2 separate regions of the Homo sapiens genome follow, and region 1 is linked to region 2. The links are contacts of gene promoters, found by promoter capture Hi-C in human tissues and cell types (Jung and others, 2019). All regions are on one chromosome and are shown on one strand. The core of a region is centred on a gene start or on the middle of the fragment in contact, and the rest is flanking DNA. Distances in the headings are between cores, read along the strand shown. Region 1 overlaps NSD1 (nuclear receptor binding SET domain protein 1). Region 2 holds the start of DOK3 (docking protein 3).

What was found. Contacts are between HindIII fragments. The study calls those that stand out against the background at their distance.
Region 1: a contact is called between a fragment that was not itself captured here and the fragment with the promoter of DOK3 in region 2, in 1 of the 25 tissues and cell types used here (spleen).

The regions. Positions count from the first base shown.
Region 1 is chr5:177,289,144-177,295,329 of GRCh38, forward strand. NSD1 (nuclear receptor binding SET domain protein 1) reads left to right here. Exons shown (of 23, transcript NM_022455.5): 22 at 2,811-3,015; 23 at 4,689-6,186. Among named protein-coding and RNA genes, the nearest start is that of RAB24, 11 kb to the right of the region's middle. The HindIII fragment of the contact is 5,839 bases long and covers 1-5,649 here.
Region 2 is chr5:177,504,861-177,511,986 of GRCh38, forward strand. It overlaps DOK3 (docking protein 3), which reads right to left and starts at 4,966. Exons shown (of 6, transcript NM_001308236.3): 1 at 4,898-4,966; 2 at 4,615-4,797; 3 at 3,377-3,682; 4 at 151-250; 5 at 1-55. The coding sequence starts at 4,680. DDX41 (DEAD-box helicase 41) reads right to left here. Exons shown (of 17, transcript NM_016222.4): 17 at 6,717-7,067. The coding sequence ends at 6,931. RefSeq lists enhancers at 3,222-3,331, 3,352-3,401, 5,222-5,371 and a silencer at 4,952-5,091. The HindIII fragment of the contact is 13,536 bases long and covers 1-7,126 here.

The sequences.
Region 1 (6,186 bases), core at 1,480-3,979, 220 kb before region 2:
ACCCCATCTCTAATAAGAATAGAAAAATTAGCTGGGCCGTGGTGGCATGTGCTTGTAGTCCCAGCTACTCAGGAGGCTGAGGCAGGAGAATCCCTTGAACCCAGGAGGCAGAGATTGCAGTGAGCTGAGATCACACCACTGCACTCTAGCCTGGGCAACACAGCAAGACTCCTTCTCAAAAAAAAAAAGAAAAATTCAATGACATTGAATAGGTGTTGATAGGGCCACTTGCAATTCACTAAGCATTCGGCTGATCAATTATATAAGAGGTTTTTGGGGATATTGTTGAAGTGTTTTGGGCCATCTGACTTTAATTGGTGCTACTTTTCTAACTAATAATGCTGTGAAATAGGACCTTATAAAGAAGGTTAGTTACCTCCCTCGTCTTGATCTCACATCTCCTAATAAGCCATATAGATTCTTGGTATATCTGTGTCTGTCCCTGTCTTTCTCTCACTTTCTCTTTCTGAAGATACCAAAAAATCTGCAGTTTAAGCTTCTAAATGTAGCATAACATCATAGATAAAAGTAGAACTCTTAATCTCACCATTATAAAAAAGTATAAGCATTGTTGTGTCTTCCTGTTTTTTTAGTATGCACTTTCTGAATAATTGAATTCTAATTCTGTAACTGTTAAGTATCATTTCCATGTCTATATTCTCCTTATTTTTTTTGTTGTTGTTGTTTTGTGTTTTTTTTTTTGAGGTGGAGTCTCGCTCTGTTGCCCAGGCTGGAGTGCAGTGGCGCAATCTCGGCTCACTGCAAGCTCCGTCTCCCGGGTTCACGCCATTCTCCTGCCTCAGCCTCCTGAGTAGCTGGAACTACAGGCGCCCGCCACCATGCCCGGCTAATTTTTTATATTTTTAGTAGAAACAGGGTTTCACTGTTGTTAGCCAGGTTGGTCTCGATCTCCTGACCTCGTGATCCGCCCGCCTTAGCCTCCCAAAGTGCTGGGATTACAGGCGTGAGCCACTGTGCCCGGCCCTTATATTATTATTTTTTAAAGTCCTTGCTGATCATTTTTAGTGACTGTCTTAATTTTTTTATATAATGGATGGACATACTAGATGAACATCTGGATAATTCAAGATTTCTGTATCATAAGTAACAGCACAGTGAAAATTGCAGTTTAATTTTGATACAAAATAAACTATATAGTGACTTCAATTGAGTATGTTCCATATGCCTTTTTGATTGTGAAGCTCAACATTAAGAACTGAAAAATGCAAATTAACATAGAAGCCAATAAGAAAAGAGTAAATAAATTTTTTTTTTTTTTTTTGAGACGGAGTCTCGCTCTGTTGCCCAGGCTGAAGTGCAATGGTATGATCTCGGCTCACTGTAACCTCCGTCTCCCAGGTTCAAGTGATTCTCCTGCCTCAGCCTCCCAGGTAGCTGGGATTACAGGCCCCTGCCACCACACCTGGCTAATTTTTTGTATTTTTAGTGGAGATGGGGTTTCCCCATGTTGGCCAGGCTGGTCTCAAACTCCTGACCTCAGGTGATCCACCTGCCTCAGCCTCCCAAAGTGCTGGGATTACAGGCGTGAGCCACTGCGCCTGGCCAGAAATGAAGAGCACTCAATGATCATTTTTTAATCTTGTTAAATAAGGAGAATCACCTCTATATTATACTGGATTTTATTGTGCTTTTTGTTTAGTTTTGTTGGTTTAACGGTGTTGTTCCTTAAGATGTTGACTTGTTTCCTATAAATTAAAATAGTAACTCAGTTTAACCTGTACTTAATGGTATTAAGTGTAGTGCGGATGTCAGTTTCAGCATCCTTGATGTCTGCATGGGATAGCATTTCACAGGAGTCAGTCAGAGGTAGATGCTAGAGAGGTCACTGTGTGCTCTTAGTAGATACTGGTCTGTCAGAATAGGGTGGACCTCCATTAAGCCTTACAGATTGGTCCTGGATGTTTCTGGGTTAAAATGAAGAATGTGATAAGATGATTTGGTGACCAAGTGTGGGCTGCAGGGAACAAAGAGAGAACATCTGCTGGCTGCTCCAGGGTCTGCCTTGGGAGTGGTGGACCTGAAGCTAATTTGACTTGATGTGTAGTCTTATTGACGGCAGGGACCATGAATTAACTTTTTTGTGTCTTAACACATTGCTTATAGTAAGTTCAGTTATGCTTTGTTGAATGAACGAGAAATAGGCATGTGTACCCACACACAGAAGTCTAGTTTAGTTCTGAAAGTAGACGAATATAAAAGTGAAACTTTGGCCAGGTGCGGTGGCTCACGCCTGTAATCCTAGCACTTTAGGAGGCCAAAGCGGGTGGGTCACAAGGTCAGGAGTTCGAGACCAGCTTAACCAATATGCTGAAAACCCGTCTCTACTAAAAATACAAAAATTAGCCAGGAGTGGTGGTGGGCGCCTGTAATCCCAGCTACTCAGGAGGCTGAGGCAGGAGAATTGCTTGAACCCAGCAGGCGGAGGTTGCAGTGAGCCGAGATCGCGCCACTGCACTCCAGCCTGGGCAACACAGCAAGACTCCGTCTTGAAAAATAAATAAATTAATTAACTAATAAAACTTATGAAAGGCATGTCATTTAACACCAGCCTTATGGATCAGCAAAAACACAAAGATTTTTGTCTTCTGTTTTGTTCAGGTGGCAGGAGTAGTTGATACAAAAATTATTGCTACGTATCTGTGATGTACCAGGTACCTTTCCTGCATTTTATCTTCATGACAATCTCTTTTCCCAGAGAAGAGAATGAGGCTCAGAGAGGGTAGTTAACCCGGTTAAGATTGGTACTAATGTGTTCACAGAATGCTGACTGTTCAATATCTGACCTGTAGAATCAACCCATTGCCACGGAAGAAAAGTCAAAGAAATTCAAGAAGAAGCAACAGGGAAAGCGCAGGACCCAGGGTGAAATCACAAAGGAGCGAGAAGATGAGTGTTTTAGTTGTGGGGATGCTGGCCAGCTCGTCTCCTGCAAGAAACCAGGCTGCCCAAAAGTTTACCACGCAGACTGTCTCAATCTGACCAAGCGACCAGCAGGTTGGTGCCAAAATCCATTTGTACCGCTACTCGTTCTCTCCATCATACTCAGGGTCTCATGCCATTTGCATCAGCCTTGAAGAAAGTGCCATTTGGTCTTTCCATGCATAATTTTGAGGGGTATGGTCTATTTTCTTATTTTGGAAATAATGAAAGCAAAGGCTTAGAATTCTTAGTTATGAAGAATGGGACAGCGGTGCACTTGCTGTGTTTCAGGTCCTTTACTTACAGTCATGTTTATTTCATTCCCCCAGCAGCCCATAATGGTTGGTTTTCTTCCATAATGCATGTGAAGAAACAGAGTGAGGATTGGGGAGGTGATCTTTCACACATAGATAGAGGAGCTGGATTGAGAGCTGGGTTTTTGACTCCAAGACTATTAAATCATGTTGCCTTTCTAGAGAAAGAAAGATTGAGATAGTAAAGCCTTTAGGTGGTTCTAGTCAGTGAGAGATGGATTGCCACCCTTTTAGCACTTCCTACCTTGCTCCCCTACGCCTAGTGCAGTCTCCCCCCATGCAGAGTAGACTTTTTTCCTCTAAAGGAGATTTGGTTGTATCAGTTAATACATGAGAAAGCTGCTCAGGTGGATGTGGTACCCAGGAAATTTGTAGTTGAAGAAATTGAGAACCTTTGAGTAGTGATTTGGGGTTAGAGAATTTTAGGGATTTGGATATGCCATCTATTTTAATGAACAAAAAAGAGAAACCAGTAGGGAGCCATTCCAGGGTGAGGAGATTATACATTACTAGTGACCTGCTTCCAAGAGTTGCAGAACGTTAAGAACTTTAGGGTATAAGTAAAAGGAATTTGTCCCCAAATTGGCTTTCCTTCACTGTATATTGGCCAGGGTCATGAAATAAAAGAAACTGAGGTAGGATGAGGGCAAGGCCATCACATTGACCTGTCAGCACCAGGAAGTAGAATTGTTTCAGAATCAACTGCTCAGGGTCGTCACTGGCGCAGGCTATGATAGAACCAATCTTGCCTGTGTGCCAGGAGTGGGAGCTGGTGTAGTTGATTTGAAGGTGGAAACACTGTCCCTGGTCAAGACCCTCAGGTTTCATGAAATGTGGGGAGGCAGGTAAAAGCTTAGGTCAGCTTTGGGTCTTTTCTACTGATTCCATGTGAACAACATATAACGTGCTGTGCTGATCTCAAGACTTAAAATAGAGCAAAGGTAAATCTTCCATTTTTCATGATTTTATATCTTTTCTATTACTGTTAATAGCAAATAAGCAGGAATCTAAATCACCAGGATATTTCTCTTTGAGTTGCTTATTTAAAAGCTGTATAGTACAAATGGAGATTGCAAAAATATAAAAGTAATATCTTAAGTTTCATGTAAAAGAAACTTTTTGTTGTCCCCACCCCCGCCCCCCCCTCACCTCCTTGCTGGAAATAGTCATAGAAATACCAATTTACTCTTCTGCTTGTATATTTAGTTGATAGTAGTTGCTATTTGATAATTCGCTGTTACTTTATGTATTCTGTGCACAAAAAGAAGCTGGAATTCTGGGGCAAGAGGTGGCTGGTGAGTGGCATAAGCTCTCTGAAGCAGGGACAGTGTGAAGGAAGGTCATCATCCACACCTTCGGACTGTAGCATAGCCTTGGCCCATGTGATATGTATCTCTTTTTTCCTAAACTTTTGATTTACTTCTGTGTTTTCAGGGAAATGGGAATGTCCGTGGCATCAGTGTGACATCTGCGGGAAGGAAGCAGCCTCCTTCTGTGAGATGTGCCCCAGCTCCTTTTGTAAGCAGCATCGAGAAGGGATGCTTTTCATTTCCAAACTGGATGGGCGTCTGTCTTGTACTGAGCATGACCCCTGTGGGCCCAATCCTCTGGAACCTGGGGAGATCCGTGAGTATGTGCCTCCCCCAGTACCGCTGCCTCCAGGGCCAAGCACTCACCTGGCAGAGCAATCAACAGGAATGGCTGCTCAGGCACCCAAAATGTCAGATAAACCTCCTGCTGACACCAACCAGATGCTGTCGCTCTCCAAAAAAGCTCTGGCAGGGACTTGTCAGAGGCCATTGCTACCTGAAAGACCTCTTGAGAGAACTGACTCCAGGCCCCAGCCTTTAGATAAGGTCAGAGACCTCGCTGGGTCAGGGACCAAATCCCAATCCTTGGTTTCCAGCCAGAGGCCACTGGACAGGCCACCAGCAGTGGCAGGACCAAGACCCCAGCTAAGCGACAAACCCTCTCCAGTGACCAGCCCAAGCTCCTCACCCTCAGTCAGGTCCCAACCACTGGAAAGACCTCTGGGGACGGCTGACCCAAGGCTGGATAAATCCATAGGTGCTGCCAGCCCAAGGCCCCAGTCACTGGAGAAAACCTCAGTTCCCACTGGCCTGAGACTTCCGCCGCCAGACAGACTGCTCATTACTAGCAGTCCCAAACCCCAGACTTCAGACAGGCCTACTGACAAACCCCATGCCTCTTTGTCCCAGAGACTCCCACCTCCTGAGAAAGTACTATCAGCTGTGGTCCAGACCCTTGTAGCTAAAGAAAAAGCACTGAGGCCTGTGGACCAGAATACTCAGTCAAAAAATAGAGCTGCTTTGGTGATGGATCTCATAGACCTAACTCCTCGCCAGAAGGAGCGGGCAGCTTCACCTCATCAGGTCACACCACAGGCTGATGAGAAGATGCCAGTGTTGGAGTCAAGTTCATGGCCTGCCAGCAAAGGTCTGGGGCATATGCCGAGAGCTGTTGAGAAAGGCTGTGTGTCAGATCCTCTTCAGACATCTGGGAAAGCAGCAGCCCCTTCAGAGGACCCCTGGCAAGCTGTTAAATCACTCACCCAGGCCAGACTTCTTTCTCAGCCTCCTGCCAAGGCCTTTTTATATGAGCCAACAACTCAGGCCTCAGGAAGAGCTTCTGCAGGGGCTGAGCAGACCCCAGGGCCTCTTAGCCAATCCCCGGGCCTGGTGAAGCAGGCGAAGCAGATGGTCGGAGGCCAGCAACTACCTGCACTTGCCGCCAAGAGTGGGCAATCTTTTAGGTCTCTCGGGAAGGCCCCAGCCTCCCTCCCCACTGAAGAAAAGAAGTTGGTAACCACAGAGCAAAGTCCCTGGGCCCTGGGAAAAGCCTCATCACGGGCAGGGCTCTGGCCCATAGTGGCTGGACAGACACTGGCACAGTCTTGCTGGTCTGCTGGGAG
Region 2 (7,126 bases), core at 3,716-6,215:
AGCTGGCAGCGGGTGGCGGCCTCAGTCCTCTGCACCACCACGGGAAACTCGCCCACTGTGGCAGGTGGCCAGGACAGCTCCGTCAGTCCCAAAAAGACCCAGCCCTGGGTGTGGGGGGCTGAGGCTGCCCTTGCACGTCCTCCAACTTACCTTCCTGCCAGGAGGAGTAGATGGAGTTTTCCTCCATGGGGACCAGGCCCCTCTTGGGAGACTGGGCATCTGTGGATCCTGAGGAGGCCTCCCCTGTCCCCTGGGGAATGAGTTCAAGTCAAAGGTGAGAGCACCGCACTCCCATGCCCTGTCCCCTCCCCTCAGTATCCCAGAACTCCACAAGCCAGGGGGCATCCAGGGGCCTGGGCTCCAGTTCCAGCTTTGCCCGGCTCGCTGCATAAGCCTAGGTCCCCTTCCGAGCCTGTTCTCCCACCTGGCTCCCCACTGAGAGTGCTGGGCTGGGCAAGAGGCACTGTGCTTGAGGGTGTCTGAGAGCTGCAGATCACTGGGGACACAAAAGGATGTCCCTTGCAGCCCCTGGGCTTGGCTGGGCCAGCTTCTGTATGTCTGACAGCCTAGAGCAGTACCCCAGGTGTCTTCCTCCATCTCACCACAGCCACCTGCTATGACCCTGCAAGGTGCCCCCAATCTCTGCCTCATCCCCACACCCAGGCCTTCAGCATGTCCCCTGTGCTCTTTCCCACTCAGCTCCTCTACTAGCACCACCCTGGCCCATAGCAACACAGCCGGGTCAAATGCCACAGCTTCCTCACCAGGCTCCTTGCTCCTGTCAACTGCCTTTTTTTTTGACATGGAGTCTTGCTCTGTCACCCATACTTGAGTGCAATGGCGAGATCTCGGCTGACTGCAATTTCCGCCTCCCGGGTTTGTTTTTTTTCTTTAAGATGGAGTCTCACTCTTGTCGCCCAGGCTGGAGTGCAGTGGCGCGATCTTGGCTCACTGCAAGCTCCGCCTCCCAGGTTCACGCCATTCTCCTGCCTCAGCCTCCCAAGTAGCTGGGACTACAGGTGCCCGCCACCAGGCCTGGCTAATTTTTTTTGTATTTTTAGTAGAGATGGGGTTTCACCATGTTAGCCAGGATGATCTCGATCTCCTGACCTCATGATCCGCCTGTCTCGGCCTCCCAAAGTGCTGGGATTACAGGCATGAGCCACCGCGCCCAGCCCGCCTCCCGGGTTTAAGTGATTCTCCTGCCTCAGTCTCCCAAGTAGCTGGGATTACAGGTGCCCACCACCATGCCTGGCTAATTTTTTGTATTTTTAGTAGAGACAGGGTTTTACCATATTGGGCAGGCTGGTCTCGAACTCCTGACCTCAGGTGATCCACGTGCTTCGGCTTCCCAAAGTGCTGGGATTACAGGCACGAACCTCCATGCCTAACCTCAACTGCCTTTTGTTTTTTGATTTTTAAAATATGATAAAATACAGAGAACATAAAATTTACTGTTTTAACCATCTTACTTTTTTTTTTTTTTTTGAGACAAAGTCTTGCTCTGTCGGCCAGGCTGGAATGCAGTGGTGCGATCTAAGCTCACTGCAACCTCTGCCTCCCAGACTCAAGCAATTCTGCTGCCTCAGCCTCTCAAGTAGTAGCTGGGATTACAGGCGTGTGCCACCACACCCAGCTAATTTTTGTAATTTTTTTTTAGTAGAGATAGGGTTTCACCATGTTGGCCAGGCTGGTCTCGAACTCCTGACCTCAGGTAATCCGCCTGCCTCGGCCTCCCAAAGTGCTGGGATTACAGGTGTGAACCACTACGCCCGGCCCATTTTACATCTTAAAGTGTATCATCAGTGCTCTTTTTTTTCTTTTCTTTTTTTTTTTTTTTTTTTTGAGACGGAGTTTTGCTCTCGTTGCCCAGGCTGGAGTGCAATGGCATGATCTCGGCTCACCGCAACCTCTGCCTCCCAGGTTCAAGCAATTCTGCCTGCCTCAGCCTCCCGAGTAGCTGGCATTACAGGCATGCACCACCATGCCCAGCTACTTCTGTATTTTTAGTAGAGACGGGGTTTCTCCATGTTGAGGCTGGTCTCGAACTTCTGACCTCAGGTGATCCGCCCGCCTCGGCCTCCCAAAGTGCTGGGATTATAGGCCTGAGCCACCGCACCCGGCCACCAGTGCTTTTTAGTATACTCACAAGGCTGTGCACTGTTGCCACTGTCTAGTTCCAGAACTTTTCCATCATCCCACATGGAAGCCCTGTACCCATGAGCAGCCACTCCCCACTTCTCCCTTCCTCCAGCTCCTGCCAACACTCATCTGATTTCTATCCCAATGGAGTTACCTTGTCTGTACATTTCTTTCTTTCTTCTTTTCTTTTTTTTTTTTGAGACAGGGTCTCACTATGTTGCCCAGGCTGATCTTGAATTCCTAGGCTCAAGCAATCCTCCTACCTCAGCCTCCCAAAGTGCTAAGATTACAGGCAAGAGCTACTGTGCCAGGCGTTTGTTTGTTTTTATGGCTGAGTAGTATTCCATCTTGCGGACGGACCACGTTTTGCTTATCCATTTGTCAGCTGATGGCCATGTAGGCTGTTTCCACCTTCTGGTGGCTGTGAGTAGTGCTGCTATGGACGTTCATGTCCATGTGGGTTTTTTTTTAAGATAGGGTCTTGCTCTGTCTCCCGGGCTGGAGTGAAGTGGCACGATTACAGCTCACTGCAGCCTCGACCTCTGGGGCTCATGCGATCCTCCTGCCTCACATGTACATGTTTTGTTTGAACACCTGTTCAAGTTCTCTTGGGCACACACCTAGGAGTGGACCTGTGGGCCACATGGTAACTCTGTTTACCTCTTTGAAGAACCCCCAGGCTCACTTCCTTTTGACCCATCACAGACCTTTTGGGGCTTTACAAACATGTCCGGCTTAAACCCTCCAAAGCCTTCGCCTCTCACTCAGAACAAAACCACACACATGGCCTAGGGCATTTCAGCCGCTCTCCTAAGCTCTGTGAGTTGGCTTCCTCCTGCACTCCTTTCCTTCCAGCCACGTCGCCTTCTTTCTGCCCTTAAACACCCCACACTGTCCGGCCTCGGGGCCTCTGCCCACGGGACTCCCTCTGTTCACAACTCCCCAGGCTGCCCCTGTCCTCAGACCTTTGCCCAGTGGGTTCCTGTCATTCAGGGCCCTCCTCTGAGAGGCCTTCCCTGGCCACCCTGCCCGTCGCTCCCTCACTTCCTCCTGCTCCCCTGGCGGTCCATTTTCTCCATGGCACGCACGGCCCTCTGAGAGTCATTATAGATTTACTTTTCCCAGGCTTGTAGGTGCTCGGTGGAGCTTGCTGGGTGATGGGATGTGAGCGTGGAGGTGGACAAGTCGGGGGCAGGTGCCCCAGCCCAATCGCCCCCCTGCTCGCCGCACTCACCGGGAAGGCCAGCTGGCAGATGGGGCCCATCCAGGCCTGGCGGTGCTGAGCAGCCAGTAGATGGCTTCGCTCGGTGGTGGTGAGCAGGAAGGCACCGGTGTCCCGGGGGCAGCTCTCGCCGTCAGCCGGCAGCACGGACACACAGTCAGCCAGGCGGATGACCCGTCGCTCCCCTCGCCGGCCAGGCCCTGCCGACCTGTCACCCGCTGCTCCCAGGCCACCATCCCGGACCTCCCAGCTCTCCAGCCGTGCCACGCCTGATGGGCCTCCTGCATACAGCAGAGCCCACACCTTCCGCCAGCACTTCTGCGGGAGGGGAGCGGGAGGGTGAAGACCCTTGGGTGGCAGATTGTCCGTGCCACTTGGCTCAGCACAAGCTGCTCGGCAAACGCTCCCAGCCAGGAGCGGGCCTCTGCTCCCCAGTTTCTCAGGGAGCCAGGTAAGGAGGCCTTGGCTATGCTTGGGATTGGTCAGCCCTGGGTTCAAATCCCAGCCCGCTCTTTCCTAACTGTGACCTCCACAAGCATCAATGTCGTCTCTCAAAAGGCCATGAGAACTCGAGCTGGGACTGCTACTGGGTCATGTTTGTAAAGCATCCAGTGGCCGGGCAGACCACCAGACACTGCCATTATATTGGTTCCCTCTCACCCCCAAAAAGGGGCACTTGGGCCACAGGCCAAGAGCTGGGGTGGGAGGGAGGCCTCTGCCTCAAGCTGTTAAGGAAGGAAACATGCAAATAGCTTCGAGCAAAGGAAACTGACGGTTTATCTGCCTGGGCAGCAGCTGCAGCTGAGCTGCGGGGGTGTGGGGCTGCTGCCGAGGAGAGGTGACCCCCTGCCTCCTTGCTCCCAGGACAGTGCCGCTGCAGGGAGGGGCTCCACCCTTGAGGCCTCCTCCAGCTCAGCCCCTCACCCTATTTAGGGCCCTCGGTGGCACTATTTCATGGGTCAGAGGCTGTGAAGCTCTTCCCTGCTGGGAGGTTTGAGCCTTCGACCCTCTCCCACTCCTGTATTTCCCATCTCTCCCGGAGGCAGGGTCTGGCAGAGCCTGCTCAGCCCCTGCCGTCTCAGGCTGACACCCGCACTCCATTCCACTCCCCATACCTGGGTGGGATCCTCCACCCTGACTCCCTTCCCAAGTCTCCCAGGTCTGCCTGGGCTGTCCGAGGCAGGGGCAGAGGCTGCATTCTCCACCCACTGTTGGTCCTTGGCAGCTGCCTGGCAGCCAGGGGTCCCCACCTTGCCAAACTTGACATGCTGCTGGTAGAGGATGCCATCCTTGATAGGGGTCTCCAGAGGGTCCATGGTCACGGCCAGGAGCAGGGCCGCCGCTTCAAGACCTGGGGAGACTGATGACAGGCTGGACGGGAACTCCTCACACTTCCCCTTCTGGCCACTTCCCGTCCCTCCGTCTAGAGACAGCTGCAGGCCGGGGGGAGGGGAGCCTGTCTTCAGCTCAGGGGCTGGGGGCAGCATGTATTTCCTCCCTGGGGTTCTGGCTGCCCAAGGTGCCCACACCTACCTGGAGGGAGCCCCCGGCCACCTGAAGGCAGCCTTCTCACGCACCTGGTTCAGCTGGGCACGCGCGTCTGATCGCAGTCTGGCTCCCCGAGTCATGAGTTCCCGCCCCTCCCCCGTCCCGCCCCGGGCAGCTGCGCACCCTGGGCCTGACACTCCCTGGCCCTGCCTCCACCCAGGACCCTTCTCTAGCCAACTCCTGGCTTTCCCACTCGGCGTCCTGGTTTGAGCGCCTCACCCCATCTTGCTGCTTTTCTTTCTCCCTGAAATCTCTCTCGTGTTCACCTGCTCCTCTCCACCTCACGAGCCACTGAACATCACCAGCCTTTGGCATCCCCCCAGGGGCCACTGCCCCACTGGGCCTCCATGCAGCACTCTCCACAACCCAAGACCAACCTGTCTCTCCCCTTCCTGGGGTGCAGCCCAGGCTCCTCAGCCCAACACTCAGGGACCTGTGTGTTCTGGCCTGCATCTCCCCCAGGCCAGCCCCTCCAGGGCCCCCTCACCACTGTGCTGCCTGGGGCGGTTGGCCACCTCTTCCTCCTGGAGGCCTCCCTTGACCACTCCACGCTGTCCGAGAGCTCAAAGGCCCTCACGGTATACACTCACGCTGGGCATCCAGTCCACATGGGACCCACAGCCCTGAATGGCCCCAACCACGTGAGTGTGGGTGGCAGGTCCCAGGGGGCCCCGGAGAGGTCACATGTTCATTTAAAGCTTTGCTTCCTGCTGGGGGCGCCTTTTGTTGGCTTGCCTAGCAAGATGCCAATAGCGGGGCTGTGTGTATACCTTTATTCTGGAACAGCCTCAGGTCATTCAGCACCACCTCTGGGAGAGAACATGGAAGAGGATAAGGAATGCCATTTGGGAATGCACTTGGCCAGGAAATATGTCCTGAAGGCCTCCTGGCACCCAGCTCTGTGCCCACTGTGGCCCAAGCAGCCCTAAGCTCCGTCCACCTCAGACGCCACATCCTTTGCGTTCTCATCGCCATTTCAACAGTGAGGAAATCGGTGCTCAGAAAAATTAAGTAACTTGCCCAATGCCACATATCAAGTGACAAATATGGCTTGAGCAACCGCTGTCTCACTGGAATGAGCATGTGGCCATACATGCAAAGTGCCTGGCTCAGAGGAAGTGTGGCCGCCTGTGCCGTCCCTGCCTACCTCTCACCAGATGCTGAGATCCTGCCTCATCTGCTAGCGGTCTTGTGACTGCCGTCCACGTTTCTGCGTGTGCGTCTTTCTCTCCCCTCGCCTGACGGCTTCCCAGGCAGCCATCTCCCTGGCCCATCTAGGTCCTCACAGCTCAGCAGAGCTGGGCACAGAGCAGGCTTAGGGAGAGCTTGTGGCCTAAATGGCAGTTCTATGACATCTGCTGCCTCCTCAGTCAACGGAATGGAGGGCTCCCTCCAGGTGGCTGGCACAGGCAGGCAGTGGGTGGGGGTCCTGAGGCAAGAAGCAGCCTCCCAAGGGGCTTCAGGAGAAGTCCCTGAAACATCACAGCCCTGACAGGAAGAGTGGGCCTGAGAGCTATGACAGCTGGCCAGGGAGACCAGAGAATCCAAGCACTTCTCCTTGGCCCGCCAATGTGGTCCCTCCTTGAGTCATAAATTCAGACAACCCAGTGGAGAGACCCAGAGTCCCCAGAGGCGGGCACCAGCTCGGTGGCTCCTTCCACAGCCAAGTACCAGCAGGCCAGGTGTTGGCAGTGCTAGTGGGAGATGCTGGGGCCTTGCCTCAGAGGGGCTCCAGAGGTCAGAGGTGACGTCTGTCCAGGAACCAGGGGGCGGATGAGGTGAAACACAGAGGCAGGGCCAGGGCTGGGCTAGAGGTTTGGGCTTTAATGGCAGCTGGGGTAAAAGGAAACAAAAACAGTAATTCTGAAGAGCACAGGGAACAGGCAGCCAGGACCAGCCTGGCCCATCCCAGGCCAGCTGAGCTGAAATGCTGATTCTGTCCAGGGGGCTGCTGTATGTGTAGACTGGTGGCAGTCTTGGGGACTGAGGCCTCTTGGAGAGAAGGGAAGACTGTCGGCTCAGAAGTCCATGGAGCTGTGGGCCAGGTAGTCCTTGCGACCGATGTTGCTGACCTGCTTGGTCTGCATAGCCTCGAGTTTGGGGCAGTCAGTGATCCGATGACCCAGGCCCCCGCAGAAGGCACAGCCGCGCTCTCCTGGGGGAATGGGGACAGGGGTCAGCCAAGTCAAGGACCAGGATCCATGCCCTGGACTT